Regions from separate parts of the Homo sapiens genome. Here all the other regions are linked to region 2. The links are contacts of gene promoters, found by promoter capture Hi-C in human tissues and cell types (Jung and others, 2019). All regions are on one chromosome and are shown on one strand. Each heading gives the region's core, a stretch centred on a gene start or on the middle of the fragment in contact. The rest is flanking DNA. Distances are from core to core; before and after follow the strand shown.

Region 1 (2,700 bases), core at 56-2,555, 560 kb after region 2:
ATTCATCATCCTAGAAATGCAAATCCAAGGTCAGGCACAGTGGCTCACACCTGTAATCCCAGCACTTTGGGAGGCCGAGGTGGGCAGATCACAATCTCAATCAAGAGATCGAGACCATCCTGGCCAACATGGTGAAACCCCATCTCTACTAAAAATACAAAAATTAGCTGGGCATGGTAGCACACACCTGTAGTCCCAGCTACTCAGCAGGCTGAGGCAAGAGAACTGCTTGAACCTGGGAGGCGGAGGTTGCAGTGAGCTGAGATCATGCCACTGCACTCCAACCTGGTGACAGAGTGAGACTCCATCTCAAGAAAAAAAAAAAAGAAAGAAAGAAATGCAAATCCAACCAGAGTGATTAAAATAAGCCTGAGGAAAAGACAATACAAATTGAGGATGTGGAGCAATTAGAATGCTCCTACACTGTTGTCATTGCTGTTGGACTTTTTTTTTTTTTTTTTTTTTTGATACATGGTCTCACTTTGTTGCCTAGGCTGGAGTGCATTGGCGCGATCAAAGCTCACTGCAGCCTCCATTTCCTGGACTCAAGTGATCCTCCTATCACAGCTTCCTGAGTAGCTGGAACTACAGGTGCACGCCACCATGCCCAGCTAATATTTTAATTTTTTGTAGCGATGGGGTCTCACTATATTGCCCAGGCTGGTCTCAAACTTCTGGCCTCAAGCAATCCTCCTGCCTTGGCTTCCCAAAGTGTTGGGATTACAGGCATGAGCAATAGTGCCTGGCCCATATGCTGTTATTTAAAATGAACAGCAACTTTGAAAAACTGTTTAGCAGTATTCTCCAAATCTGAGGTTATACATACCTAAATTCAATAATTTTTCTCTTAAATATTTGTTCAACATAAATACCTTATGTGCAACAAAAACTCACATACCAGAATGTTCTAAGCAGCACTATTCACCAATATTCAAAAACTGAGAGTCACACAAATGTCCTGGATGAACTTTCAAACCCAAGTGCCCTGCTTCCCAAAACCAGCGTGTACACCCCCATCCCCAAGGGATACACCACATCAGTCATGTACTTGAAGCTCTGACTTCCAGTTCACTCTTCATTTGGCCCCTACAGATTTGCTTTACTTTCTTATGAGCTCAGTTTTGCACTGAAGAGGCTGCATGTGACTGTTCATTCAGAACGTCAGGAGGTTTTGCAGCAGAAGTATTACAAGATTACATAGTTCCTGATATGCCTCATCATCTTTCCATGGCCCTGTCTAGCTGTGAAGATTCTTCCTGGCCCTGGTTTTGCAGACTAAAGATAATATTTTGTTGTAAAGCGGAGAGAGCAGAGAGAAAAAAGGAAGATACTTTCACTTAACACCGAAGGGTCGGGGGAGCATGGTTGGGGTAGTGTCTCTCCCCTAGTTCATCTGCTGAGAGGCTGCAGTGAACCTTGTCCACATCCCACTGGAGAACCAATGCCCTGCCTGGCTGGAAATCAACACCCTGGCTGTCCTAAGGGCTCATCTCTGGTTTGATGAGGTTGACAACTATTTCTAGAGGCTCCCATCACCCAGCTGAGCAGCTGTCCACCTCCCTCAGGTCTCTGGGTGGCACTGGGCAGGGCTGGAATCTAGGCTGCCAGGCACCCCTGACTGAGATGTGCTGAGAGGGTCAAGCCTGGAGAATCCCTCCCACCTTCTGCTTTGCCCCTGGCTCCTGTATGGATGCCCTTCAAGGTCACGCCTCTCTCTGATAGAGGACTCAGTTTAATTACCAGGTGCTGCTTGGACTTCTCGTGTCCTAATTTTCAAATAGCCCACAAGGCCCCAGGCCGCATGTAAACAGGCAGGGAAAATAGTAGCTCCTCCTGAGTGCTGTGCATGGCCCCAGAGGCCGGGATGACCAGTTTTCTGCTGACCACTTCTTTGTGGTTGAGTAAAAAGGCCTTCGCATTTCGGGATAGAACTGAGGTTCCTTAGGATCTACTGTCATCTTCAACCTGTGGCTAAAGAACAAGGGCTGGTGAACAGGGAGATGCTCAGGTCATAACAACAAAAACAGGTGACAGTGATGAAGTATCCTACATGCCAGGCACGGTACACAGGGCTTTACATGGGTTAGGTCATTTAATTCTCAAAACAACCCGAAAGATAGAGATATAGACATACATACATATGTATATATGCGTATATATACACACATATATTATAAATAAATATATATTATAAATTAATGTATAATTATATATTATATATAATCCCATTTGTGATTATTATAATCATATAATTATATATACACATATTATAAATAAATATATAATTATATTTTTTATATATATATATAAAATTCCCATTTTTCTGATGAGCAACTGAGACTGCCAGAGGTATGTGACTTGCTCCAAGTGACACAGTTAAGTGACAAACCCAGGACTGAGCCCCAGAAAATCTGGCTCACATCCTTGACCACGGTTCTAGGTGTGATCTTTTGTCGCTGATCCCAGATTCTACGTCACCTCTAGCACATGTCAGGCACTGCCCCTGGCGGACCCTTTCCACCCTTCCTGCTTTGCTGTCTCAGTGGACCCTTCAGTAGGTGTGTCAGCGGGAGGGGTTCACAGAACACCTCTTTGGCGGGATCTCCAAAAGCCCCTCCTCATTTCCCTCTTCTTGACCACCAACGTGTCCCTCTCCCTGCCCTTTTAGCTGGGGTCTCCTGCGTGCCTGGGCCTTTCTGT
Region 2 (2,700 bases), core at 137-2,636:
TGGAGGAAGAGGAGTGAGCAGTCACTGAAAAGAATAGAAAAATAATGAGGCTTGCTCCCTCTCCCTAGTCAGAAGAGCCAGTAAGCAGCTTAGAGCTTTAATCCCACAAATTGTCAGGCAGCTGGCGCAAGAACAGGGAAAAAGAGAGAGAGAGAGAGAGAGAGACCCTGTCTGTGGTAGGTTATGGTCATCAGTGAAAAAGAACAAAAACCTTTGTTTTAAAACTCTCCTCAAAACAGATGATTGGCTAGAGGGTGCGGCACAAAGGAACTTGTCAGGGTGATGGAGACATTCTGTATCTGGATTGAGCAATGCAAGAACCTGGGTAAAGACACAGTCATGGTAACAGCTGTATACATCTGTTGAAAACTCATCAAACTTATCATATTTAGAAAGGGTACATTTTGCTTCATGTAAAGTATGCCTCAATAAAGTGTACTTGATTTTAAAATCAGGATAAAGGAAAAAAACATTGATCTTGGATAATGGGCAGGGGTTGGGGAGAAGGTCTTAATTATCATCATATCCTTTTAAAAACGTTTTTCAAGTGTGTGATGCTCTGATGACATTCTTAAGACACAGCAAGGCAAAGCAGTATCCCAAATGAGAGAGTGAGCATTCCAATAAATATTTTCTGTAAGACACTGATATGTCTATGACTATTTGCTAAATTTAAAAATCAACTTGGACCATATTTACTCCCTTAAAGTCTAATAGACGACTAATTTCTTCTATGTTCAGAACAAATATGTTGCTACTTTAAGAACAGCATACATAGGTGTGGTCGGCCCTCTGTGTCTAAGGCTTCTGCATCTGTGGATTCAACCAACAATGGACTGAAAATATTCCAAAAATAAAATAAAATTAATGAAACAACAACAAAAATAAAACAAATAAAAAAATGCCAGGTAACAACTACTTACAAAGCATTTACATAGTATTAGGTGTTAGAAGTAATCAAGAGATGATTTAAATCACCATCTATGATTGGCTGATATGCATAGGTTATATGCAAATACTATGCCACTATATATAAAGGACTTGAACATTCGCAAATTTTGGTATCTGCAGGGGATTCTGGAACCAAACCCCATGGATACCAAGAGACAACTATATATAAAATACTGAAAGAGGCATGGAGAGTGATTTTCAGGCCTCTACCTAAAGCCCTGAATATTAGAAATTACTGAATTTCTTCTCAGGAAGGAAATTACGCCATAAACCAGTGTTGCCACACACCCAGAGAACAAGATGACCCGACGCCCCAGCCTGGTCATGCCACATGAGCTGAGCAGTGGGTAGGCCACTGAGCCAGTGATAGAAATCACAAATTACAAAACGTCAGAGTACTTTCTGGAAATAAGCCTTCCTCTCCAGGGAACAACGCATTTGACACTTGACTGGGATACACTACCGGATCCTCCGAGGGTGATGGTTCTCAAGAAGGCAGAAGCAATGGTGACCAATAGACCTCCTTAAAGGCTGAGCCGCTGGGCACCTTCCTACTCCTCTCGACCGTGCTAGGATGACTGCAGCAGAGTCCCCGAGTCCTTTGATGCAAGGGTCTAGGTGAGTTCGAAGGAGAGCCATACTAGGCCAGGCAGAAAGGCCCATGGTGATGGCTGTCCACCCTGGTCAGGGGAATTCTAGGTTCAGGCCATGCGGCAAGGTCACCTTGAGGGACATGCTTTGCTCTAAGCTCAGCTTAAGTGTGTCTGAACCCCCCTCACTTCTTCCAACTGCAGAAGCACATGGAGAAGGGGGAGAAAGGGTTGCCCACCTCCTAAAATGAGGGCAGCGTGGTGAAGAGCCCCATCATGCCCCACCAAGGTCCTGTGTGCAGGGCAGGGCAGTGCCTATCCAGAAGGCCAGACCTCTAACTGCTGCTCTGTAGGACGTCCGGGCCTCACATGCAGGCTCCTATAAGCTGGCTGTCTTGGCAAGAGGGCCCTGGTACAGCACTGTGTTCATCACAGAAAACCACACCGTACATAATTTGTAACAGACAGAAATGCATTTGGCTCATGGTTCTGGAGACTGGGAACCCAGGATGGAGGGGCCACATCTGGCAAGGGCCTTCTTGCCATGACATGGTGGAAGGTATCACAAGGTTGGGGAAGGAGGGGTGGGCGGGGCGGGAAGAGAGAGAGAGAGAACAAGAGAGAGAGAATCCATTCATAAGGGTGGAGCCCTCATGACTAAACACCTCCCATTAGGTCCCACCTCCCAACACTGTTGCTTTGGGGATTAAGTTTCCAGCTGGCTTTTTTCAAACCTTAGCAACCACCAAACAGACAAGCCCTTCGGCCTGTCCTGGAGGGCGTTGAATGGCATGGCCTGGAGCTCAACCAGGAGAACCGTGCTCAGGAGGAAGAGACCAGAAGGATAACTCAAAAAGTTCTGAGAAGTTCCTAAGACCACCTGAAGAGAAGGAGCCTGCTGCCAATGGTGTGGACACCGCAGTGTGCTTGAGGAGACTTCAGAAACGAGAACTGGTAGGAGAAGGGGGTTGCACAGACCCTTTCCTCAGTTAGGCACCCTCTGCTCCCACCCTCATGCCCACCCTGACATCAGGCTAAGGGAGAGGCGCTCATCCATTGACAGGTGCCAGGCTGTCCTGGGCCTGGCAAACCCTGGCCTTGTACACCCACTCTCCACACGTCTGCCCCCACCCTCCCAGGGGCAGGGCCGGGCTTCCCT
Region 3 (2,700 bases), core at 3-2,502, 980 kb after region 2:
TGTTGATAAATTTTTTTTTTTTTGAGACAGAGTTTCGTTCTTGTTATCTACCCAGGCTGGAGTGCAGTGGTGCGATCTTGGCTCACTGCAACCTCCGCCTCCCCAGTTCAAGCGATTCTCCTGTCTCAGCCTCCTGAGTAGTTGGGATTACAGGTGCATGCCCCCACACCCAGCTACTTTTTGTATTTTTAGTAGAGACGGGGTTTCATCATATTGTTCAGGCTGGTCTCGAACTCCTGACCTTAGGTGATCCACCCACCTCGGCCTCCCAAAGTGCTGGGATTACAGGCGTGAGCCACCGCGCCCCGCCGTGTTGACATCTTAATACCAGTGCTGAGGACAGTACTTAGCACATAGTGGATTTTCAGTACAATTGATTGATTGACATTAAAAGACCAATTTCTGAGTATATCTTACGTTTTTTGTTTAATATACAGTCAATATTAGTGACGTGAACAATATCATGGAGGTGATACTTTATGGCTCTTTGGGAAGTTTATTGGTGTTTTCATCTGTCTACAATGATAACGGAGAACTGAGCTCTGTTGGTTAGCCTAATGCACTCTCCTCTGAATTTCACATGTTGAAACTGTCATCTCTGCCAATATAAGAAAACCAACAGATAACAAGCATACTAAAGTATAGAACTTAGTTTTTTTAGTGAGACACTTAGTTTACTTAAGTGGAATGTTTTTGTAAATGCAGTGGTTTTTTTTTTTTTTTTTCTGTTTACAGCCATCTCAATCAGTGACCACACTGCCCTTGCTCAATTCTGCAAAGAGAAGAAAATTGAATTTGTAGTTGTTGGACCAGAAGCACCTCTGGCTGCTGGTAAAGTTTGTTTCTGTTTATTGTTACAGTATATTCAGTGCAAACAGAAGCTTAGGGATCATCTAATCCAATTCATTTTACAGATGAGAATTTGTAATATTATCTTGGAAAAAGAGCTTCCACTCTCGAAATTTATGGAGTCTAGATTTTTTTTCCCAAGCATCAGTTATATGATGAGTTAGAGATCAAATTTGCAGCCATGGAAAACATTTTATATGTCTTTATTCTGCTGTATTCTGGTGTGTGTTTAATAATCCATATATGCAAATATAACAACTTTTGATAGATTTGAATAACATGTTAATAGCATTTTATCTCTATCCAGTAGACAACATGAAAAAGTTAGTTATCCTCTGCCACCAGTCATCTGCCTTGTCTAGATGTAGATATAGTCTGATACTAATTCGTCTTCAGGCTGAAAAGCCCCTGGGGAGACCTTGGTTCACCTAAGGCTACTGTTTTCATCAATAGGGATTGTTGGGAACCTGAGGTCTGCAGGAGTGCAATGCTTTGGCCCAACAGCAGAAGCGGCTCAGTTAGAGTCCAGCAAAAGGTTTGCCAAAGAGTTTATGGACAGACATGGAATCCCAACCGCACAATGGAAGGCTTTCACCAAACCTGAAGAAGCCTGCAGCTTCATTTTGAGGTAGGTAAATGGTTGTCTGTGAAGGACAGTTGTTTAGTTTTGATATTTAAATACACAGGTCAGTGGCCAGGCACAGTAGCTCACCTGTAATCCCAGCACTTTGGGAGGCCAAGGCAGGTGAATCACTTGAGCTCAGGAGTTAGAGACCAGCCTGGGTACCATGGTAAAACCCTGTCTCTACAAAAAATACAGAAAAAAAAAAGCCGGGCATGATGGTGTGCACCTGTAGTCCCAGCTCCTCTAAAGGCCAAGGTGGGAGGATCACTTGAACCCAGGAGGCGGAGGCTGCACTGAGCCAAGATTGTGCCACTGCACTGCAGCCTGGGTGACAGAGTGAGACCCTGTCTCAAAAAAATTAAATAAATATACAGGTCACTTCTGTGTTGAAAATGTAATGCTAGGTCTTTAGGCTGTCTCAAGATGTAGTAAGATAATTAAGGAAAAAACTTTCTCAATAAATATTATGTGGGTTGTCGTTTTCCAGAACCAAAATAAAATGGGATCCTATGCATACAGAGTTTATATGATCTTGTGGCCTTGCAGGAAGATGACATTTTTAATAAAATCTGAGTAGTTCCTCAGGGGAAAAATACACTTGGTTCTGCAGTTGTGCGCTCTTCACAGCCATGTTTTTGGTTTTTGGTTCCCCGCCCCCCACCACCACCCCCCAACCTGAGACGGGGCCTCTCTCTGTCACCCAGGCTGGAGTGCAGTGGCGTGATCTTGGCTCACAGCAGCCTCTGCTTCCTGGACTCAAGTGATCCTCCCACCTCAGCCTCCCAAGTAGCTGGGACAATAGGCACACACCACTACTCCCAGCTAGTTTTTATATTTTTTGTAGAGACGGAGTTTTACCATGTTTCCCAGGCCGGTCTCAAACTCTTAAGCTCAAGAGATCCGCCTCTCTCTGCCTCCCAAAGTGCTGGGATTACAGGCATGAGCCGTAACACTAGGCCTCACGGTCAGATTGACAAACGCAGTGGCATCTTACAACATAAAGAACATTGATTTTTTTTGTCATAAATAATTAACCAGAGTGAGTAATCATCACTTGGTCATCTGCCACCACTATTGCCATTTTATTTTATTTATTTATTTATTTATTTTTATTTTTATTTATTTATTTATTTTTTTTTTTTTGAGTCTCGTTCTTTCACCCAGGCCGGACTGCAGTGGCGCTATCTCTATCTCGGCTCACTGCAAGCTCCGCCTCCCAGGTTCAT
Region 4 (2,700 bases), core at 34-2,533, 660 kb after region 2:
TTGCACCCTGGACATCCTGAACTGCATATTTAATAACAGTCAAACACCTTGAGAAAGGGGCACCTTTTTGAGTTTGCATCAATGCTTCCTAAGTATTAATGGTGGTCCTGCAGCTAACAACCCACCCTGTACTCCTCCAACAGCGGCGAGCCCTGCTGCGTCTTTCCTGGATGTTAAGACTATCAGACAAGATGGTTTCACACCCGTTTGGTGTGGTGGTTGCCAGACTACCACAGCACTCTCCAAACTGCAGGTCCATCTCTGCAAATCCCTGTCTCCCAATATGGCATCTTCCCATGGACGTGGACAAAAGGCCTGCTGAGCAGCAGGAGCGCCGGGCTCCGCATCTCCCCATAGTTCTGGATGAGGTGGCCAGGGCCCTTCTGGGAGGACTGACAAGATGAGGAGGCATCACTCAGGTCAGGGGCTTTTGTGGGGGCCTGGGAGGAAACGTTGCCATTCTCAGTGACAGGTTTGTCTCAGGGTAACATATGGCAGGAATGACTCGAGACAGCAGCCAGATGGCCCCCCATTTCCAGATGCCAACACTGCGGGCCAGGAGGGCGGCGTGGCTGGCTCCATGGCACCTCCTGGTTGGTGGCTGAGCTGCAGCTGCTCTGAGTAGAGCGTGGACTCCAGACTCTCAGTTCACATGACTCCATCCATCAACTGCTCAGGGACTCACTTGCCCTTGGCTAAGTGATCTCTGTCCCTCTGTGGGAATGACTCAATGTTGGCCATGGATAAGCAACGAACCGTCTCTGCGGTCGCAATCTCCTATAGCATTTGCCATCCAGATGCTCCTCAAACATCAGAAAGTTTCTTGGGCTCAGAATCAGGACATAGACCTCCTTGACGGAACCCTCCCCTCTCCCTCCGTCATCGCCCCCTGCCGTGCCCCCTGCCCCACCAGCTCCCTTACCTCTGTGACCAGCTGCAGGTCATTCACATAGTTCTCCTCGGTGACAATGAGCTCGTGGATGTATCCTTGTCGCTTTCTTTCAGTTGGGGTCAACATATCCAAGAGATGTAAGTCTGAACACCCTGGAAAACACAACCATTTGGGAGAACTTAGCACAGTCTGGGGAAGCCCACACAACTTCACACGGAAGATCCTCGTGGCTGCTGGGTCCTGAGGGCTTGCTCCAGTCCAGTGGGGTCATGGGCTGAAATGTGTCCTCCCCAGTAATATGTGGAAGCCCTACCCCCTGGTACCTGTGAACGTTACCTTATTTGGAAATAGTCTTTTCATATATAATCAAATTAAGATAAAGTCATACTCAGGGTTGGGTCCTGACCCTATATGATCAGTGTCCTTATGAGAAGAAGACAGAGACAGACAGGCAGAACCTGGAGTGATGTGTTTCCAAACCAAGACACACCCCGAGCCCTCAGAGTGAGGCTGGCACCTGCCAGCATCTTCCATTTTAGACTTCCGGCCTCCAGGAATGTATGGCAATAAATTCTTATTGTTTTAAGTCCCCCCGTTTGTGGTCGTTTGTTAGGGCACCCTAGAAACTGATACAGGCGGCACACTCCTGCTTCATCAGAAACACGAAAATAATGTGAAAACAAAACACTCAATGACGATTGGCCAAAACTCTGGAGGGCTCACACCATGTCAGGTGGTGAACTGCATTTAATGCTCAAGTATTATACTAGAATTATCCCCATTTCACAGACGAGGACACCGAGGTTTACACAGGTTGACTGGCCCCAGGTCTCTCAGCTTGGAAGTGGTGAAGGCAAGAGCCAAACCCTGAGACTTGGGCTGCAGAGGCTGTGCTCTATCCCCGAGCTCCAGGAGGCCATGGGTTATCCATGTCGAGGTTGGTTTGTGGAGGATGAGGTGGCTGTGCTGAGGCTCTGATGGTCCTGGGGACCAGGCAGATGCAGGGTGCCTCCAGACAGCACTGGGCACACTCTCCTGGACAAAGCTGCTGCCTGGCCCCTGGGGCAGCTGAGCAGCATGCTTGCCACAGAGAGGGTAGTCCTTCCCACTGCAGAGAGCCTGGCACAAGACCATCATGGAGGCCAAGGCTGCCCGACGGGAAGGGCCACTCCACTGCCCTGAGATGGTGCCTGCACTGGAAGTGGGGCTCACTCATGACTCTGCCCACTTAGCTTGTTATTTGGGGTTTTGTTTGAACATTTGAGCCTCCTGCCCCAGACACACTGGAATGAGCAGGAGGGAGGCTTGGTTCTTGGGAGCATCCCATGTGCAGGCCTGGACCCACCTCTCTTTTTTATCAGAGGTTCTTTATTTAATCACAGAAGCCAGACTTGGAAGACAGACCCAGAGGTGTCCCGAATGTAGGTGGGAGAGTCCGGGCTGAATCCCCTTTACTTGTTCTTCCCATCCCTTCTGTTCCCCTCAAGGGGGCACAATGGAGCACAGTGCAAAACCCCCTGCTGGGGACCAGTGGTTGTCAAAGCGTGGTCCCCAGGCTGGCAGCATCAGCGTCACCTAGGAGCTTGCTAGAGATGCCCCGGCTGAAGTGACTCTGGAGTTGGGGGCTGGGTATCTGTGATGTAACAAGCTCTCCAGAGGATTGTTTTTTGGCGCACTAATGTTCAAGAAGCCTGCTCTGGCCTAGCAGGGGTTCCTCGAGTTTCCATCTTCTCTCAAGGGAGTTATCTGGGGTCATGACTGATCTAGCCTATATGCTGAAAGCTTCTGCAAATTGTATGATCCCTCTG

What was found. Contacts are between HindIII fragments. The study calls those that stand out against the background at their distance.
Region 1: a fragment that was not itself captured here is called in contact with the fragment with the promoter of KCNE1 in region 2 in 1 of the 25 tissues and cell types used here (dorsolateral prefrontal cortex).
Region 3: a fragment that was not itself captured here is called in contact with the fragment with the promoter of KCNE1 in region 2 in 1 of the 25 tissues and cell types used here (spleen).
Region 4: a contact is called between a fragment that was not itself captured here and the fragment with the promoter of KCNE1 in region 2, in 1 of the 25 tissues and cell types used here (lymphoblastoid cells).

What each region holds. Positions count from the first base shown.
Region 1 is chr21:33,950,395-33,953,094 of GRCh38, reverse strand. The region is part of intron 2 of LINC00649 (long intergenic non-protein coding RNA 649); the gene reads right to left. Among named protein-coding and RNA genes, the nearest start is that of LINC00649, 21 kb to the right of the region's middle. The HindIII fragment of the contact is 6,850 bases long and covers 1-2,700 here.
Region 2 is chr21:34,510,896-34,513,595 of GRCh38, reverse strand. KCNE1 (potassium voltage-gated channel subfamily E regulatory subunit 1) reads left to right here and starts at 1,386. Exons shown (of 4, transcript NM_000219.6): 1 at 1,386-1,569; 2 at 2,281-2,495. The HindIII fragment of the contact is 8,709 bases long and covers 1-2,700 here.
Region 3 is chr21:33,533,356-33,536,055 of GRCh38, reverse strand. GART (phosphoribosylglycinamide formyltransferase, phosphoribosylglycinamide synthetase, phosphoribosylaminoimidazole synthetase) reads left to right here. Exons shown (of 22, transcript NM_000819.5): 3 at 736-831; 4 at 1,303-1,477. Among named protein-coding and RNA genes, the nearest start is that of GART, 7.4 kb to the left of the region's middle. The HindIII fragment of the contact is 3,274 bases long and covers 1-2,700 here.
Region 4 is chr21:33,855,080-33,857,779 of GRCh38, reverse strand. ITSN1 (intersectin 1) reads right to left here. Exons shown (of 40, transcript NM_003024.3): 30 at 923-1,044. Among named protein-coding and RNA genes, the nearest start is that of ATP5PO, 59 kb to the left of the region's middle. RefSeq lists an enhancer at 1-259. The HindIII fragment of the contact is 7,666 bases long and covers 1-2,700 here.